3 separate regions of the Homo sapiens genome follow, and regions 1 and 3 are each linked to region 2. Evidence: promoter capture Hi-C in 16 types of primary human blood cells and fetal thymus (Javierre and others, 2016). All regions are on one chromosome and are shown on one strand. The core of a region is centred on a gene start or on the middle of the fragment in contact, and the rest is flanking DNA. Distances in the headings are between cores, read along the strand shown.

Region 1 (4,327 bases), core at 1,828-4,327, 5.9 Mb after region 2:
GCTGGTCTCAAACTCCTGACTTCAAGTGATCCACCTGCTTAGGCTTCCCAAAGTCCTGGGATTACAGGGGTGAGCCATGACACCCAGCCAATGTTTTGTTTTTTATTTTGAAATAATTTCAAAACCACTGCTTGGGTTAAGAACCGTACAAAGAATTTCCATATACTCTTCTCCCAAGTTCCCCACTGTCACCATTTTAACACATTTTTGCCTTATTAATCTCTCTCTTTACATGCACATATATGTGTATGTATATACACACATGTAATTTTCTTCCTAAGCCATTTACTGGGACCAAGTTGCAGAAATAATGCCCACTACTCCAAAATAGTTCAGTGTGTATTACCTTAAAAAAAAAAAAGAACTCTCATTCATAACCAGTCTACCTATGAAAATCAGAATTTAGCCAGGCTTGGTGGCTCACACCTGTAATCCCAGCACTTTGGGAGGCCAAGGTGGGGGGTGGATCATCTGAGGTCAGGAGTTCGAGACCAGCCTGATCAATATGGAGAAACCCCGTCTCTACTAAAAATACAAAATTAGCCGGGCATAGTGGCACATGCCTGTAATCCTAGCTACTCGGGAGGCTGAGGCAGGAGAATCGCTTGAACCCAGGAGGCAGAGGTTGTGGTGAGCCGAGATTGCGCCATTGCACTCCAGCCTCAGCAACAAGAGCGAAACTCCATCTCAAAAAAAAATCAGAATTTAACATTGATTCATTACTATCACCTAATCCAGACTTCAGTAAAGTTTCACCGATTGTTCTGACAATGTCCTTTGAACAAAAGAAATACAAAGACTTCTTATTTCCCTTTTTCCTTTCTTGTCCAGGATGCAATATGGAATCACACATTGCATACAGTTGTCATGTCACTTTGGTCTCTTTCAGTCTGGAATATTGTTTAGGCTTTCCTTATCTTTCATGATCTTGTCATTTTTGAAGAGTACAGGCCAGTTACTTTGTAGAATTATCTAAATCTGGATTTACGTGTAGTTTCATCATGATTAGATTTGGTTGGTACATATTAGATAACTATTTTAGATTAGATTATGTAAATTTGGTAGGAAGTGTTTTGTGTTCTTCTCAGTGCATCAGGAGGCATATAATGTTAATTTATTTTTTCTTTGCTTTCCTTTTTCTTTTTCCCTAGAGATAGAGGTCTTCTTATGTGCCCAGGCTGGTCTCGAACTCCTGGGCTGAAGTGATCCTCCTGGCTCAGCCTCCCAAAATGTTGGGATTACAGGTGTGAACCTATAATGTTAATTCATCCCACTATTGGTGGTTTTTTAACTTTTACCACTTGAATAAGATGCTGTTGGCTGAGGATGCTGGACAATTACCCCCTAGCTCCTGGTGTCACCAACTGCACTGGCTGAACCAGCCATGCTAGCCACAGACCCCTGACTGTGACCAAGGGGAATAGGTATACATATTTTTAATTTTCTTGTTATGGATTTATAAGGTAAGAAGGAGAGGGATAAGGATGATAAAGTATATTTAATTTAACATGTTGTTTGTTTCATAACTTCTTTTTTTGGATTTTATTTTTTATAGAGACAGGGGCTCACCAAGTCTCCCAGGCTGGTCCCGAACTCCTGGGTTTAAGTGATCCTCCTGCCTTGGCCTCCCAAAATGCTGGGATTACAGGCCTGAGCCAGCACATCCAGCCTGCTTCATGACTTCTTTCTTTTTTTTTTTTTTTGAGACGGAGTCTCACTGTCGCCAGGCTGGAGTGCAGTGGTGTGATCTCGGCTCACTGCAACCTCTGCCTCCTGGGTTCAAGCGATTCTCCTGTCTCAGTCTCCCGAGTAGCTGGGACTACAGGTGCGTGCCACCATGCCCGGCTGGTTTTTGTATTTTTAGCAGAGATGGGGTTTCACCATGTTGTCCAGGATGGTCTCGATCTCTTGACCTCGCGATCCGCCTGCCTCGGCCTCCCAAAGCGCTGGGATTACAGGCGTGACCCACCGCACCTGGCCTGAGCTACCGTGCCCGGCCCACAACTTCTAAATATTCAGATGAATAGTATGTGGGTCTTCCTATGAACCCTTGCCCTAAAACATGCAGAAGTTAGGAGTCGGCCTGTTTCCAGGCAGACTTTCCTTCCTGATGCTTTTGCCTCCAGTGTAAGCAGGGCCTGACCAAGACATGGAGCACCTTTGGTAGGCTAATAACTTGATAATCCACCAAAATGAAGGTTTTTAAATATTTTCTATAAATACGAATTGAATACCTCTTTCTTTACCCTTTCAAAGGTGGCTCCACAAAAGTAGAATCACACTTCCTGTGAAAAGTGTTTTAAGTTTTCTCCTCTAGAGCTCTGTTGACATCGGCCATAGCGAACTCTGTTTATTTTTCCTATTATATAAGGAATTACAAGTTGGAATCAGAAGTAATTGGCATCCTAATCCTGATTTATTCTAGTGGCAGTGTTTTGGAGTCACTTAACCCTGTCATCCTGGTTGGCCGTCCCTTCTCCCAGCTCTAACGGTGAGCAGCTGATACCCTGCTAGGTGCTGGAGAGTCAGAGGTGGACATCAGGGCCCACCTCGAAAAGTTGACAGTCTGTGGTGGGCTGAAGCCAGTAGAAAGCTGCTGTAGGAAGGCAGAGGAGTGGCCCCTATCCCAGGCTTGGGGCTCTCAGGGAAGGCTTCCTGGGGGTGAGATGGGAGGGTGGGTCCATATGCTCTTGGACCAGAATGAGTAGCCCAGAGAAGGCAAGAGGGCTCCCAAGCAAACTTGTCCTATTTAATTTTTTTTTTTTTTCCTGCTTAGAAAAGCAAAATGCGTTATGAACAAAACAAAACAAAACAAAACAAAACAAAACAAAACAAAACAAAACAAAACGCTGTAGCAAAGAAAGCGAAAGGCTCCAGTAATCCTCCCTGCTCCTCCTCACCGCACGGATCCTGTGAGATACCCCGAGCATTGGAACCTGGAGAGCTTGGGCAGGCATTCACCCTCCTTCCAGCAGGGGGCGGAACGTAAAACGCCTTGTGGCCGACGCCCTCTCTCTTTCACACGTCACTGGCGTGACCGTCCGCGCTACATACTGCGCCTGCGCAAGGGCTGTGGCCCTTTTCCCACCCCCTAGCGCCGCTGGGCCTGCAGGTCTCTGTCGAGCAGCGGACGCCGGTCTCTGTTCCGCAGGATGGTGAGTGGATGCCTCGGTCTCGGGGCTTTAGATGCATGGAGGTTCCCTTTTCTTGCCCGTATGCCAGCCTAGGGCCCGTCTCGCGCGTCGCAGGGGCCGGATGGCGTTAGATTGCTAGCTCTGACTTGGTCGAGGTGCAGTTCCCAGCGTGGCCTTAAATGGCTGCCGCCCGGTGCGCGAACTTGGGGGGAGGGGTTGGCGAAGAAGGGTTGCGTGAGCTTGGACGGCGGATTGGGGAGAAGGGTGAGTTTAGTAGACAGCCTGAGTGCGGATACTGCCGTCTAGTGTGAGGGGGCGCTGGCAAGCGGCCGGGCGTGAGAGGTCGCAAGCAGTCGACCTCAGCCTAGCTGGGGAACGCCAGAATGGAGGGGGGCTGCAGGTCCTCGGGTCCCACTCGACCTCCGAGTACCGAGTACTTCGTGGGTTTTCCAGGAGAATGTCGGAGCCGGCAAGTCTTAGATTTAGGAAGCTTGTGCCCGTGGGCTGAGCAAGTGGCTTTTAAGCCAAAATTGTCAGTGGAGCTTGGAGGCCGAGGGGTCCCTGGGCCCCGGAAGCTCCTTTAACATGGAATACGTGCCTCCTGCCTCTTCCTCTAGAGTCCGTCGCCGGATGAGTTTTTAATTATTGGGGTAGGGCCCCAAGGGTGGGATGAAATGTTGCTTTAGCTGATGGGGAACAGTGCTGTTTTAGTGGGGGAATTACTGCTGAATGTGCTCTTGCCCAGTTAAGCTTTGTGGCAGGTAATTTAGGCTTTTGAAAAACATAACATGGGAAGCGAGAGAGGTACGTAGTTGTTATTTGAGGCTAGGTTTTCGAAGTGGGACATAGCGTGTTCCGAACAAACCGACGTTTGGCATCACTGATTGCTGTCTGGAGCAGTGCTTCGCAAAAGTTTGGCACAATTACCGGTGCTGGTCCTTGAAGAAACAAATATGGAAATTGAAAGCGTTTAAAACCTTTTGAAAGCAATATAACAATAATTTTATACCTGTTAAATGTAATAAATTGGGGCCTGCATTTTGTATGTTTCTTTTATTCCATATTTCTCTAAGGATTCATTTTTATTGTTTTATGAAACTACTAGTCTGTGACATGGAAGGTAGAGGAAAAAGATTCTTGACCCTAGTTGCTTGTGAAACCTGGGATTCTACAAGTGACAGTTGTCTGTTTAC
Region 2 (4,088 bases), core at 1,589-4,088:
TTTTTGAGACAGAGTCCTGCTCTGTTACCCAGACTGGAGTGCAATGGTGCAATCTCGGCTCAGTGCAACCTCCGCCTCCTGGGTTCAAGTGATTCTCCTGCCTCAGCCTCCCGAGTAGGCATGCGCCACCACGCCCAGCTAATTTTTATATTTTTACTAGAGACGGGGTTTCACCGTGTTGGCCAGACTAGTCTTGAACTCCTGACCTCAGGTGATTTGCCCACCTCAGCCTCCCAAAGTGCACTGGAATGAGCCACCACAACTGGCCAAAAATGACTAATTTTTGGCTTGGGCAATTGGGAAGCTGACAAAGGCAAAGCCAACCATTTAGATTCTGAATACAGCCAGGGATAATTCAAACGGTGAACCAAGACGCTGTTATTTCTGAGGAGAGAGATGTTTATGGCCTGAGTGATTAACAATAAGTGGATGGATTTGAGATACTTAGGAATTAAAATCAGTAAGTTTCAGTAATTCCCTGGATATGATATATGTAAGGAAAGGAGTCAAACATGACATCCAAATTTCTAGTTTGGATTCTGTGCACAGTCACTGTGGTACGCTGTTTAATTAATTCCTATCATTATTACATATGGAATTAGTTAATTCCATAAATACCTCCTATCCTGGTATGCACACTTTGCAAAGTGACTCTGTCATTCCTCCCATGTAGAGATGAAATCTATTTCTCCATCCCTGAATGTGAACTAGTCTTGTGACTTGCTTTGAGAAATATGTGATGGAAGTAATATATGTGATTTCCAAGGCAAGGCTTTAGAAGGCATTGTAGCTTTTGCTCTTTTGGAGTGCTGCCCTGAGAGTGCCATGAAAAGAAGTTGGTCTAGCCGACTGGAGGATGAGAGGTCACACGGAACAGAACCAAGTCCTCGAGCTGACAGCACCAACTATAAACAGTGGTAATCCTGGAACCTTTCGGTTTAGCTGACCTACTAGGTCAACAAAAAGCATAAATGAGGCCAGGGGAAAACCAACATAGGTGGAGTAGTTCTACTCCACTGACCCAGAATTATGAGAAATCATTGCTGTTTTAAGCTACTAGGTTTTAGGGCGGTTACACAGCTATAGACAACTGACAGTCAAAGACAGAGGGAGATCAAAAAAAGACAACCTGAAATGTTATCTCGAATGACCTAAAGATGTGCAAAAACCCTTAAACAGTAGAAAGTTTAGGGAGAGGTGATCCAGTAATTCCTAGCACCAAATGCCTGAATAACAAGATAATTGGAATGTTAATTACAGAAGTTAAGAATCTACCTTTTGGTTAAAGTAGCCAAAGCAAACAGCCAGGATGCTTTCAAGCTCTTTGAGAAAGGTAAGTACAGGTGTTCATAGAGGACTCCGGTGTAGTCCCTTAACACCCTCAACCTTGGATAAGTAAATTAAACCAGGTCTCCTTATTAGAGACTACCCGAAGAATTAAGCTAGGATAAAAAAACGTAAAAGCTTTCAGCACTGTGCCTAAAATTTTACTATTCACACAGCAGAACATGGATATGAGAAGAAATAAGTTAAAAGTACACTTTTCCCATTCAAAGGTCACCCATCTATTCTGCCAATAGAGAAAAATGAAATAAAAAACGCTGCCTTAAAGAAGACAACGAACATCATTTAAAAAACTAACTTCAAAAATGAATTATACTTTGGTATAGATAACTCCTTTTACTCCAACAACATTGTTTAAAAGCACAAATCGCACTCAAGCGCAGCCAGCCGTATATGAATAGCAGAGGAGAACGGAAGTTAAGAGACTAACAGAAGTAGTGAAAATGAGAGAGCACGCGCGCGAGAGAGGTAAACACAAACTGTTCGCCTGGACCAACGACTTGAAGACTTGCCTCTAAGAGTTGGAAGTCTCGTCATGAGTCTCTTGCATTTCTGTCCATTTAAAAACAACCTCCACTTCTTGCCAAGCTTTATTATTCCCCCCTCCCACCTGGTGTGGTTTACAGATTGTTTTTAGCAAGAGCCGTATAAGAGAAGCTACGTACCCAAGACAATCTGAAATCAAGAGAAAACTGCTGCTAGAAACCCAAGGCGGGGAAGGAGAAGGATCAACCGAGAAATTAAGCCACGTTGCATTCTGGCCGCAGCAGTCATTAAGGAAGCGCAGTCCTCCCCACCCTTTTCAACCAGGACCGAATGTTGCGTCTTTCTCAGCTGCAATCACTCCTACTCTCCCTGTGGCAGCTGCGAAGGTGATCTACACTCACCGCTTGAAGCACAGTCGCCAACAACAACCGTAGCCCAAACGCCGGCACCAGACACCCACTCGGCCCAGCCGCCATCGCTACCATTTTCCGCAGGTTTCTGGCTGCCTAGAAGGACCCCTAAGCTAGGGGCGTCCACTCCAGAGCCTGATCCAAAACAGAACGCTAACGGCCGTTGCCCTTACATCTCTCATTTGGAAGTGACAGGTATTAAATAACGGCATATGAAAGCTTAAAAGTCATCAAATACAATCACTGGGTGCTTTCGATTACCCAAATCAGGCACTTGCCTAAACTCCCCACTTCTTTACTTCTGCGGTCTCCTTTCTTTTATTCACGACACTTCGTCAAGCAGCCAAGAAGCCACGCCTTCGCCAGTTTTAGCCCCGCCTTCTTCTCCAAGTTTACCCAATTGAATGTCGTCTTGATTGAGCTCTGTGGCAGAGGAAACCAACCGTAAACCGAACCAAGAGCGAAGCGCAGGGGCTCTTCCGTCCAATAAGCGGACCCGAACGGGGGGAGGGGCGGGGCTTCTGGTTGCCGAGCAGCGTACGCGGATGCGTGCGCGTGGTGGCGGAGGGGGATGGGCGGGGGCGGGGATGAGGGCGGCGCAGCCGCAGCGCCGGTGGAGGGGCGCGCGGCCGCGAGCAAAGGAGGGAGGGAAGGAAGGAAGAGAGGGAGGCGGGCAAGCAGGCGGGCGCGGGGGTCGGGGACTGAGGCAGTAGAGGGAGGCGAGAGCCCGGCAGCCGCTTCGCGCTGTTTGCTGCGCGGGCTTTTGGAGGGGGCGGCCGTTTAGTCGGCTGAGGAGAAGCGGACACCAGCGGCGTTGGTGATAGCGCCTGGGGGAGGGGGACTGGAGAGGCGAGAAGGGGGGTCGCTGCGGTGGTTCTCTCGCTGTCGCTCTCTCTTTGCCTCGCTCCCGGCTCGGCGGGCTCCTCCCGGCGTCTCTCTCGCCTCCGGGGTCCCGCTCCCCGCCCCCCGCGGTATGTCTTGATCCCGAGCAGCGGGTTTCATGGGGCTCCTCAGGATTATGATGCCGCCCAAGTTGCAGCTGCTGGCGGTGGTGGCCTTCGCGGTGGCGATGCTCTTCTTGGAAAACCAGATCCAGAAACTGGAGGAGTCCCGCTCGAAGCTAGGTGAGGAACTGAACTGCCCCGGGCTGAGTGCTGTGGAAGGGGCCGAGGAGGCGCTGCCGCCGGAGCAAGTGGGCGTTCATCTAACCTGGGGTCTGGCTCGGGGGCTGAAAGCGGTTTCAAAGAGAACCGGGAACAAGGGGCAGCGAGAGCACGAGCTCCAAGAATGGGTTGAATTAAGCTTGAGCGGCGTGCTGGGCTCGCGAGGTCACGGGGCAGAGGTTGCAAGGTTGGGCTTCCCTAGCCAAAGGGTAGCCCCGAAGTAGGCATTCCGCGGAGAGAGAGCGAGAGAGAAGACCGAACTCAGTGGGGAGCGTGTGTTGCTGGTCTCCGGAGACAGAAGCGCTTAGCATCGCGTGTTCTCTTGGAAGTCGTACAGGAAGCCCTGGCAATGTCAGATGAGGGGTATTCTAATTTGAGCTATGGGCATCTGGATACGAATTCTTTTGGGGGCTCATGAAGGGATAGGTGCGCAGAAATGGGAGGAGATGCTGGGATGACGGAGAGCAACATGTGAACACTGTAGCGAGTTGCACTCTTGTGCTCCGGGCAGCAAAGGACCTTGTAATTGCCAGCTGAGGGAGGCTGGCCGGGTAGTGCGGGAACGCGAGTGCAAAGCTTCATCGGAGTACGGAAATGAGGGTCCGGAGATTTAAATTCTTCTTTAGTGGCGCTAAACTGATGAATTGGGGCTTGAGAATAGGGATGCCTATGTATGTTGCTTCAC
Region 3 (4,249 bases), core at 617-3,116, 6.0 Mb after region 2:
CGCCCGCCACCACGCCCGGCTAATATTTTGTATTTTTAGTAGAGACGGGGTTTCACCGTGTTAGCCAGGATGGTCTCGATCTCCTGACCTCGTGATCCGCCCGCCTCGGCCTCCCAAAGTGCATGAGCCACTGCGCCTGGCCGTTTTTTTGTTTTTGTTTTTGTTTTTAAGAGGCAAGGTCTCACTCTGTTGCCCAGGCTGGAGTGCAGTGGCGTGATCTCAGCTCACTGCAATCTCCGCTCCGGGGCTCAAGCCATACTCCCACTTCAGCCTCCCGGAGTAGCTGGGACCACAGGCACCCAACCAACTTTTTTTTTTTTTTTTTTTTTTTTGTATTTTTAGTAGAGGCGGGGTTTCACAATGTTGCCCAGGCTGGTCTCAAACTCCAGAGCTCAAGGAATCAGCCCGCCTCGGCCTCCCAAGTGCCGGGATTACACGTGTGAGCCATCGCGCCTGGCCGGTAAGCTTTTTTTTAAACTCACATAAAAGATTACACAGAGGTACCTGGCCTGGGTTGAATTCTAGAAGGGGTTGTGACAGTGTTACTCAAGTGCACAATTACTATTGGTGGTGCTTGCTACAAAGACTCAGTTTTATTCGTACACGCTTAATATCATGGGTTGTCAAATCATGCTTCCAATTTGCAATACGTCACTCATTTCAGGGTAATGACTTACACATACAATTTTCAAACAAAAATGTAAGATTTACTTGCCTCATGATGGTTACCTTCTCAACTTTTTTCATAATTTATAAAAGCACCAGCTGACCCCAAATCATCTACCTCTTGGCCTTTTAATGTAAGCGGTAAAGGAATACTGTCCTCTGAATGCAGCGTTGGCTAACACTGCTGACCCACGCAAGGCATTGATTTGTAGTTGTTTTTCCATCGGAGTGATGGATTTGCGCTCAGCTACTCGCGGTGTCTACTAGGTCCCCCTGGTGACCAAACAGTACACTTAGGCAGTAGTAGGGTTCCAAGGCACAGACTGGCAGCGGAACAGAGGGTGGAACGGGAAATCATGAAAAATTAACACGCGAACCGTACACACGACATGACTGAGAATTACGTTTGCATTACTAGGGTATTTGGGATCCACAGACCAGCCACTAGCCCCTTTCCTTTAAAAAGCAAACACCCATCCGCCTGGTTCAGGCTTATCGGTCTCCACCTCCCATTTAAATCTTGGGTGTGATGGAACGACCCAACCAAGGGGCTCGGCACGAGGCACACGCTGCTTTTTGGAGCCTGGGGAAACACTGGTGTGACAAATTGTCATAATTTTCTAAGACACGGAGGAATGCTACACCACCTTTCCTACCACCGACTTAAGACCCAAGACACTGAGTCAAGGGCAACCGACCTGCGGGGGCCCACGGGGGAGGGGGGAAAGCCCCGAAAACACCAGGGAGAAGGCGGCCCGTCGAGCTCCGCCTGGAGCGGCGCAGGGCTGCGGGCAATGCCCGGAGCGCGGGGTCGTACCCAGGTCACGTCTCGGGGCTCTCAGGATGCGAGGGCGTACCCGGGCGGGACGACTCGGGCCCTGGAGCCCGGCTGGCCGCGGCGCGGGAGCCGCGAGGGCCGCGGTGGGGGGCGTCGGCAGAGCCGCTGAGGGGGCTGGGGAGGGCGCGCCGCCAGGTGCCGGACGGCAGGGGGCAGCGGGGTTCGGGCGGGCACAGACCCAGGGAGGGAGGAGGGGAGCGGGCGAGTCCTGCGCGGCGCGGCAGGGCACACGGCCGGGTGCTCCCGCAGCTGGTGGCTGGGCGGCCGCCGGCCTACCTGGAGGTAATAGGGTTTCCTTAGCCAGGCCCCCGGACAGAGACTCCTCGCCATGGTAATCACACATCGCCCCGCCGCGCTGCAGTCAGAGGCGGACCCGAGCGCTGGCGGCCGGGCTCCCCGCCTCCCCCCGCCTCCCCGCCCCCTGCCCGGCCGGGCCCGCCCACTCCCCCGCCCCCGCCGCGGCGCGCGCCGCGCTCCCCTCGGCCCGGCTGCAGTGAAGGCGGCGAGAGGCCAGAGGCCCAGCCTCCTGCCCTGTTCGCCCGCCGGCCGCCGCGGCTGTCAGAGAGGCTGCTGCCGACTCCGCCATAAAGGGGAGTCGCACCTCGCCTCCGCCGACACAAATCGACTGCGCCTGGAGCTTAAAGGGGAGGCGCGCGGAGGCGGGAGGGGGCGCCGCGGCAGCGGGGGTGTCGCACGCTCGGCGCGGATTGGGGCGTGCTTCTCGCTGGCTGATGCGGCGACCCCCGGACCGCGCTGGCCTCGCAGTCTGCTCCGGCTTCCGGCTCCCCGCGCTGCGCCCAGCTGCGCGTCCCGCCACCCGCCCCGGCAGCACCGACGCTCCCCATGGACTCTTCTCCTGGAGTCAGGACGTGTCTGGACGGGTTGTTTGGAAATTCAAGGGAAGCTTGGGGCTCCTTCCCTGGGGACTGGCTCGTCCTCCCTCGCCCTTGGTGGCGGTCGGGGGAAGGGGGTGTCTGCCGCAGCTGGAGACGCAGACCGGGGCATCCCCCCAGGACTGGGCTCAGCTTCGAACGCGGACAGGGCGCCCCACTGCTGAACTCGGTGCCCCCCTTACCACGCTCCAGTTCGCCTCTAACGGCCTACAACTTTTTTTAAAAATGTACTTTTAAAAAATTCCGACTTTTTTGGTTTATATTGTTTTTAAGACAGCTTCAGAGTTTTCCTGGCCCCGTCCAGGAACACTGATTTCAAAAGAAAACAAAAACAAAAACACCGAATTAAATACAGTCCTGAAGGCAGGGAGCCTGGGACGTGGCCTGCTGCTTGGTTAAGGCTACATAACACAGGGTGTGGTGTCTTTCTTTTGACAATGAGTTCCAAATAAGGGAAAAAAGAGCCACCCTAGTGGGAGAACAGCTGTTGATCCAAGTGACTTGTAATGGAAGAAGCAGCTTTTTTTTTTTTTTTTTTTTTTTTGGCTGCTTTTTACCCCACCTACCACGTTTAAGCGTGATGCTAACAAAGTTTAGGTGGCCCGTTAGAGCTCATTCCGGCCTGTTGCTCTGAGAAGGGGTTTCCCCAGAAGCAAACCATTACTCATTCTCACTTGGTTTTTGCATAAGCCTTGTTCAGGTGCCTTGTTCTGAAGAGATACCTTCATGTCTGCCCCTTCCCTCAACCCACACACAGACACAGGTTTTAAACCTAGGTGATTTTTGTTGTGGTGGTTGTTCTTTCTGTTTTTGAGAGGGGTCTTACCATGTTGCCTAGGCTGGACTCAAACTCCTGGGCTGAAGCCATCCTCCCATGTAGCTGGAACTACAGCTACTTGGTCTTATTTTATTGCTTGCAGATAAACCAATTTTTCATTGATTTTGTTTGGGTCAAGAGACAGTAATTTCTGAGTAAGATAAGGATGAATCCTAGTGGTTTCATTCATTCATTTAATAAAGATTTATGAGTACCCAGGCACCATTCAAGTTGTTTCGGTTACATAAACAAAACAGACAAAAATCCTTGCGCTTGTGGATGTGAGAGAGAGGGGCAATAAATAATAAATGTAATCAATAAAATCAAATTGGATAAGAATGCTAATAAAGGTTATGGGGAAAACACCAAGGGAGATGGGGAAGACTACAAATAGAGGAAGTTTGAGGCAAAAGAGGAGTTCAGTTTTGGAGAAGTTCCATTTTAAGGTATCTATTAGAAATTGAAGTGGAGATCTTGATTAGGCAGTTGTATGTATGAATGAGTCTAGGATTAAGGAGCGTGGTCCAAGCTAGAGGTATATGAGAGATATCAGCATTTAGATGGCGTTTAAAGCCATGAGACTGCCTAAGATCACCAAGGAAGTGAGTGTAAATAAAAGACGACTGAGGATGGAGCTCTGGGGACCAATGCAGCTTTAAGACAGGGTAGTGGGTGAGCCAGCCAAGGAGACTGAAAGGGAGCAGCCAGTGAAGTGGGAGACCCGAGTGAGGTGCCCTGAAGCCGAGTGAAGCTTGTGGATCTAGGAAGAGGGAGTGCTCCTCTGCGAGTGAGCACTGAGAATTGACTGTTGGATTTAGTGACATGGAGGCCATTGATAACCCTTCAGTGGAGCAATAGAGGAAAAACTTGATTGGAGTGGTTTTAAGAAAAAAATGAGAGGAGAGAAACTGGAGGTGGCTAATACAAACAATTCTTTTGAGAAGTTCTCTTACAAAGGGGAGCCCAAATCTGGGACAGTAGAAGCAGAGTCAAAAGAAGATTGAAAAAAAATGGGGAGAGGCCAAGCACAGGAGG

Evidence for each region. The method cuts DNA at HindIII sites, captures the fragments that hold promoters and counts their contacts. A CHiCAGO score of 5 or more calls a contact.
Region 1: a contact is called between the fragment with the promoter of RPL5 here and the fragment with the promoter of HS2ST1 in region 2, in 2 of 17 cell types (total CD4 T cells and activated CD4 T cells). The highest score is 7.6, in total CD4 T cells.
Region 3: the fragment with the promoter of DIPK1A here is called in contact with the fragment with the promoter of HS2ST1 in region 2 in 1 of 17 cell types (naive CD8 T cells); the score reaches 6.0 in naive CD8 T cells.

What each region holds. Positions count from the first base shown.
Region 1 is chr1:92,828,963-92,833,289 of GRCh38, forward strand. RPL5 (ribosomal protein L5) reads left to right here and starts at 3,078. Exons shown (of 8, transcript NM_000969.5): 1 at 3,078-3,155. The coding sequence starts at 3,153. It also overlaps a transcript of DIPK1A not described here. RefSeq lists enhancers at 2,827-2,876, 2,880-3,518, 3,047-3,366, 3,519-4,156. The HindIII fragment of the contact is 14,223 bases long and covers 1-3,622 here.
Region 2 is chr1:86,911,797-86,915,884 of GRCh38, forward strand. HS2ST1 (heparan sulfate 2-O-sulfotransferase 1) reads left to right here and starts at 2,839. Exons shown (of 7, transcript NM_012262.4): 1 at 2,839-3,364. The coding sequence starts at 3,241. SELENOF (selenoprotein F) reads right to left here and starts at 2,330. Exons shown (of 5, transcript NM_004261.5): 1 at 2,232-2,330. The coding sequence starts at 2,315. RefSeq lists enhancers at 1,627-2,241, 2,090-2,139, 2,242-2,856, 2,250-2,409, 2,460-2,579. The HindIII fragment of the contact is 1,083 bases long and covers 2,458-3,540 here.
Region 3 is chr1:92,959,596-92,963,844 of GRCh38, forward strand. DIPK1A (divergent protein kinase domain 1A) reads right to left here and starts at 1,867. Exons shown (of 5, transcript NM_001006605.5): 1 at 1,781-1,867. The coding sequence starts at 1,834. RefSeq lists silencers at 1,428-1,987, 2,148-2,227. The HindIII fragment of the contact is 1,943 bases long and covers 464-2,406 here.